Linked DNA regions of Homo sapiens: region 1 is linked to region 2. The links are contacts of gene promoters, found by promoter capture Hi-C in human tissues and cell types (Jung and others, 2019). All regions are on one chromosome and are shown on one strand. The core of a region is centred on a gene start or on the middle of the fragment in contact, and the rest is flanking DNA. Distances in the headings are between cores, read along the strand shown.

What was found. The method cuts DNA at HindIII sites, captures the fragments that hold promoters and counts their contacts. A contact is called where the count stands out against the background at its distance.
Region 1: a contact is called between a fragment that was not itself captured here and the fragment with the promoter of UBL5 in region 2, in 1 of the 25 tissues and cell types used here (neural progenitor cells).

The regions. Positions count from the first base shown.
Region 1 is chr19:9,570,212-9,573,140 of GRCh38, forward strand. All of the region lies in intron 1 of ZNF121 (zinc finger protein 121), which reads right to left. Among named protein-coding and RNA genes, the nearest start is that of ZNF121, 13 kb to the right of the region's middle. The HindIII fragment of the contact is 3,682 bases long and covers 1-2,929 here.
Region 2 is chr19:9,826,221-9,829,329 of GRCh38, forward strand. It overlaps UBL5 (ubiquitin like 5), which reads left to right and starts at 1,698. Exons shown (of 5, transcript NM_001048241.3): 1 at 1,698-1,764; 2 at 2,107-2,173; 3 at 2,372-2,455; 4 at 2,617-2,654. The coding sequence starts at 2,118. RefSeq lists enhancers at 1,280-2,004, 1,415-1,464 and a silencer at 1,508-1,814. The HindIII fragment of the contact is 8,707 bases long and covers 1-3,109 here.

The DNA.
Region 1 (2,929 bases), core at 277-2,776, 260 kb before region 2:
AAAGAATCAGAGAGCTTCTTTAGGACACCCCTGAAATAAAGTTATTTCTTATGTTCTCAGGGCTGAAATTGTTATAATTAATGAGGCTCATATGCCAGAGCTTCCCTGGCATAATGTGAAGGAGGGAATCCTAGAGAGACAGGAGTGTTGCACTGGATTTACTATGTGTCATCTGTATAGCCCACTCCCCCGCCCTTTGTTGACAGAGCAGAAGACACTCTCTTCACAAAGGTTATTAAGAGAGTAGTGGCGGGAGTGTCGTAATCCTTGAAAAGCTCTGTTGGTATTCTCCTTCATAGGACAGGTATGACTGCAAAGAATACCATCACTGAGATGAGTTCCCTGGGTTTTTTTGTTTGTTTGTTTGTTTTTGAGACGGAGTTTTGCTCTTGTTGCCCAGGATGGAGTGCAATGACGCAGTCTAGGCTCACTGCAACCTCCGCCTCCTGGGTTAAAGCGATTCTCCTGCCTGAGCCTCCCAAGTAGCTGGGATTACAGGCACCTGCCACCACACTTGGCTAATTTTTTGCGAGGGGGGGGGGTATTTTTAGTACAGACGGGGTTTAACCATATTGGCCAGGATGGTCTAGAACTCCTGGCCTCAGGTGATCTGCCCGCCTCAGCCTCCCAAAGTGCTGGGATTACAGGCGTGAGCCACCGCACCCAGCCGAGTTCCCTGCTTTCAATCGAGATGAAGGGGACCCAGAATAGCAGAAATCAAGAAGGTAGTATTTAATCACCAAACACAAGGTGAGAAAATCAACTATCAAGGACAGTGGAAATGTACCAGTAATCAGAATGCCCTGACCTACAGAGATCTGTGGTGGTGGCTAACTGATCGTGCTGTCCCTAGAAATGAAATAGATAAGCAGTTAACAAAGCCTACTCTAAAGAGCCACAAAATATATGTTAGGCATTATGGGCCACATGGTCTCTGTTGCAGCTACTCAACTCTGCTGTTGTAGCATGGAAAATACCATAGAAAATGTAAACAAATGAACACGGTTGTGTTCTGATTAAACTTTATATACAAAAAACACATGGAGAGACAGATATGGCCCATGGGCCATAGTGTACCAATCTCTGTACTTGAATACTGCTCCATCTATGTAAAAAGTCTAAACTATAGTAGCCAAAAACTGGATTTATCCCAGTGGAGAATCATAACCTGTCACTCAATTACCACACTGAAATCATTCATAAATCATGAACTTAGGTGATCACTCCAATTACCGCCATTTTTCAAAATGTAATGCCTTTACTAGATAAATCAACATAATTTCTGTCACTTGGTATGCAGGCATTGACATAGCTAATGTCTTTTCTCCATACCAATTTGAAAAAAACAAGACTTGGTTACCTTTCACCTGGCAGGACCAACAATGTATCTTCATAACATTGCCCCTAGAATGTGTCAGTTCTCGAGGTCTCTGTCGTAACTTAATCCCCAGAGAAAATGACATTCCATGAAACACCACACTAGTACACTATGTTGACACCATTATACTGATCATATCCAATGAATAGGAAGTAGAAAACACATTTTTAAAAATTAGAGACAGGGTCTTACTCTGTCACCCAGGCTGGATTAGAGTGGCATGATCATAGCTCACTACAACTTCAAACTTCAAACTCCCGGGCTCAAGCAATCCTCCTGCCTCAGCCTCCCGAGTATGTGGGACTATAGGCACATACTACCATGCCTGGCTAATTGTTTTTCTTTTTCTTTTTACTATAGACATGAGGTTTCACTACGTTGCCCAGGCTAGTCTCAAACACCTGGTCTCAAGCAATCCTCCCACGTCAGCCTCCCAGTGTTAGGATTACGGGCATGAATCATTGTGCCCTGCCTGAAAATACCTTAGACAACTTTATTAGAAGCATGCAGCATTTACGGTTCCAAAATGGTAGTACAGAAGCAAGCTGGTTTCAATCCCCTGACAGAAAACTACAACCAAATGCATATTGTGAAAATTATCACCAGCAATATCCCTGATCTAAAATATAAAAATTAGGCAGTTTCTGGGGCTACAAAGAAGTGAAAAAACTCCAAGGGAGACGTTAAGAGAATCAAGTTTCCAAGAATGTGGAAAATTTCTACCAATTCACAGTTTCTACACTGGAAAAAACTGAGATCAATGTGGACAACCACCTTCTCCATCATCCTGGGTTCCCTGGTAAAAGATCAGTCCCTCCCTGTCTCAACCCACAGGAAGCATTACAAATGCCTGAAGGGAGAAACATCCCTGAGGACATCCAGGGACAAAGATGGGAGGCAGGACTACCATCCCAGCCCTGGAAACTCTGTTTTATAACTTGGCCAAAGGAGAAGCCAAGTCAGAGTGGCTGTTCAGGAGCACCATACTGTAGGGGTACGCTACACAGGTCACCTGGGCATGAACACACAGCCAGCCTTCCCACAGTGCTGGAATATGCCCTTTAGGACTCCCTCATTCTGAATGGGCAGTATTCTTGATAGTTTGCTATAGCAAAGGCAAACGTGGGTTTAAGATTCCATCTAGTGCTGAAAACGAGGCAGTGACCTAGGGAAATTTTAAAGAAAGAAAATCACTTTCGGAGGCTGAGACAGGCAGATCGCTTAAGCTCGAGTTCAAGACCAGCAACAAGATGAAAACCCATCTCTACTAAAAAGTACAAAAAGTAGCCAGGTGTGGTGGCGTGCACCTCACCTACTCAGGAGGCTGAGGTGGGAGGATTGCTTCAGCCTGGGAGGTAGAGGCTGCAGTAAGCCATGGTCACACCACGGCACTGCAACCTGGGTGACAGAGAGAGACCTTGTCTCAAAACAACAACAAAAAAGATAAAAAGAAAACATACCCAATAAAAACCACAAGCCAGACAAAGACTGTAATAAATAACTAATCCTTCAATGCACAGACACAGATGTACATCCACAAGAAACAACAGC
Region 2 (3,109 bases), core at 448-2,947:
AAGTTGGATAAAGGGTAAAATACGTAAAAGCAGAGAGCAGAAGCAAGGTGAAAGGGCACCCGCCCCTTCTTGCTCACCCAGCAAGAAGCAAGATAAATGGCAGAAGCTGAGGAGACAAAACAAAAGGAAGATTAAAAACTGAGTAAAGGCCGGGCACAGTGGCTCACACCCAACACTTTGGGAGGCTGAGGCAGGCGGATCACGAGGTCAGGAGATCGAGACCATCCTGGCTAACACAGTGAAACCCCGTCTCTACTAAAAATACAAAAAAATTAGCCGAGGGTGGTGGGGGGCGCCTGTAGTCCCTGTTACTCGGGAGGCGGCTGAGGCAGGACAACGGCGTGAACCCGGGAGGCGGAGCTTGCCGTGAGCCCAGATCACGCCACTGCACTCCAGCCTGGGCGACAGAGCGAGACTCCATAAATAAATAAATAAATAAATAAATAAAATTAAAAAAAAAACAGTAAAAATCCCACGGCCGGGGAAATCAGGACCAAACCAGTAAGGAGCAGCTCTTTAGGCATAAGCACGCGCATTAAAGACAAAAAGTATCCTTAACATGATAAGGATAACCAGCTCATTAGCGCTCATGCATATGGACGGCATATCATGAATGGAGGCGGCTCTCAAGCACACAGGGGCCAAAGTAAGCAACACACCTATCATTCAAAAAGGTAGACACTGGCTAGATATTAGGCAGCCTTGGGAAGAGAAAAAAAGCCTGGCCAATAAGGTGAAACCCCATCTCTACTAAAAGTACAAAAATTAGCCGGGCGTGGTGGCGGGCGCCTGTAATCCCAGCTACTTACTCGGGAGGCTGAGGCAGGAGAATCGCTTGAACCCGGAAGGCGGAGGTTGCGGTGAGCCGGCACCGCGCCATTGCACTCCAGCCTGTGCAACAGAGCGAGACTACGTCTCAGAAAAAAAAAAAAAAAAAGACCCAAACTATACCAAGCTGGGGCTGATCTTATCTCGCAGAGGTCAGTCCGCTCTCCCCACTCCGAGAGTGGAATACTGTGCTTAATAAACTTGCAGCTTTGCCATCTCTGTGTGTCTGGTCCAAATCTTTCTTCAGGACACCAAGAGCCTGGAACTGTCCGGCACCATGCGGTAACAGCAGCTGTTGGGCAGCGTAGAGTCTACTCTAGGATCAAGCTTCGCCTACTGACTGGAGTCCGTATCCCGGGGGAACGCGATGGCCAGAGGGAAGAGGTGAGCCAAATGCTCACCAAGCCCAGCCCTGAATGAACCCAGGGGGTCAGAAGGGATGACTGCAGAACTCGTCCCCCACCCCCACCCTCCGCCCTTGCTCCTAGTTGCCGCTGCAAGAGGCTTCGGGCTCAGGATCAGGAGCTTACCCCTACTCCCGGGACCCTCTGGCGTCCCCACCATGTGACCGAGTCTCCCTGCAACAAACAATGACTTCAAACGAGCTGGGCGCCGGCGCCTGACCTCTGACTCTCGCTCCACGCCCCTTCCCTGGCCACAAACCCGCCGAGGCCCCCCTCTCTACCCGGCGCGCCTACCACAGGCGCGACACCTGTCAAGCCTTGGGACACCGAAACCGTACCTGGGAACAGCAAACACACCACAGACTGCAGACCCGGAAGAACTTGTCCCAGTGTTGACCACACCCCCTGGCTAGGGGCAGGGCTTCCGGCCTCGAACTTTAACTTCCGCTTCCGGTTCCTAGCGTTAACTGCGACCGGGGTTCAGCGCTCGGGTGAGGAGCTGGTGGCGTCGGCAGGTTCGAGGCGATTCGAGGTGAGGGGGTCAAGCGGAGAGGCTCGGAGTCGGAGAAAGCTGTCGCGACCCAGCCACCCAGGGTCTGGGGTCGGTGGGAGGTGAGGCCAGGGAGTTTTGTGGCAGGGCTTTCAGGCGGCGAGAAGGGGCGGAGGCGCGGCTCCCCGGGGTTCGCGGCCCTGGGACAGGGGACTTGGGGCCTGGGAGTATTCGAGTCCGGGGGGTTGGGGGCAGAACGGAAGGCTCAGTAACCTGGAATTTTAGGGCCTGGGACTGGGAGACTTGTAGGCTGGGGCTTCTGGGCCTGGGAGACGCCTGAAGCTCTGACTTTGCTGCCTCCCACCCACCCCCCGCTTTGTGTAGCTCCAGCTAGGATGATCGAGGTTGTTTGCAACGACCGTCTGGGGAAGAAGGTCCGCGTTAAATGCAAGTATCCACTGGCAGCCGAGAGGCAGTGGTACCCGCAGGGGTGCTTGGCGTGAGGCAGGCAACTCAATCTGTGTTGTCGGATGGTTTTAGTTAAACCCGGGAGAGGGGGCGGATGGGGTCCTGGCAGATGGTATTCTGCCCTAGAATGTCCTCTTCCTCGTTCTACCGCTTCCATTTGCCTTAACTGCTCTGCGCCCAGCACGGATGATACCATCGGGGACCTTAAGAAGCTGATTGCAGCCCAAACTGGTACCCGTTGGAACAAGATTGTCCTGAAGAAGTGGTGAGTGCAGCGGTAGAGCCACTGGGTGGACTGGACTAGGCCGGAAGGTTTTGGTTGGGGGAGCGCTGCAGGCAGCCCTTTGCTTAGGCTTGGCTACCTCATTTGGCCTACAGACTGAAGAGCCTCCTTAGCCTTATCTCTGAAATGTCTCTTTTTCTTAGGTACACGATTTTTAAGGACCACGTGTCTCTGGGGGACTGTATCCTTTGTGTGACTTTTTGAGGAAGCATCTACATACCCAGCCTCGGTTATCTGTTCAAAACTAAAGTCTGCATGAGCTTATGCATATTAAGTGTTTAACTTAATACGTGGCACATGGTGAGCACTTAGAAAATGGGAGCTAGGTAATTATTTGGTTGGGGAGGAGAGTGGTTGGTGAAATAGTTTGACTTCAAGTTCAAAATATTTATTACTGACCTCCACCTGAGTGCTGGACAGTAGGTCAGGGTGGGGTGAGACTCAGGCATATCTATTGTGCAAAAGGAGCAGAAACTTTTTACAATTTTTATTTTATTTATTTATTTTTTTGAGACAGTCTGGCTCTGTCGCCCAGGCTGGAGTGCAGTGGCACGATCTTGACCCACTGCAACCTCCACCTCCCGGGTTCAAGCAATTCTGCCTCAGCTTCCCAAGTAGCTGGGATTACAGGTGTGT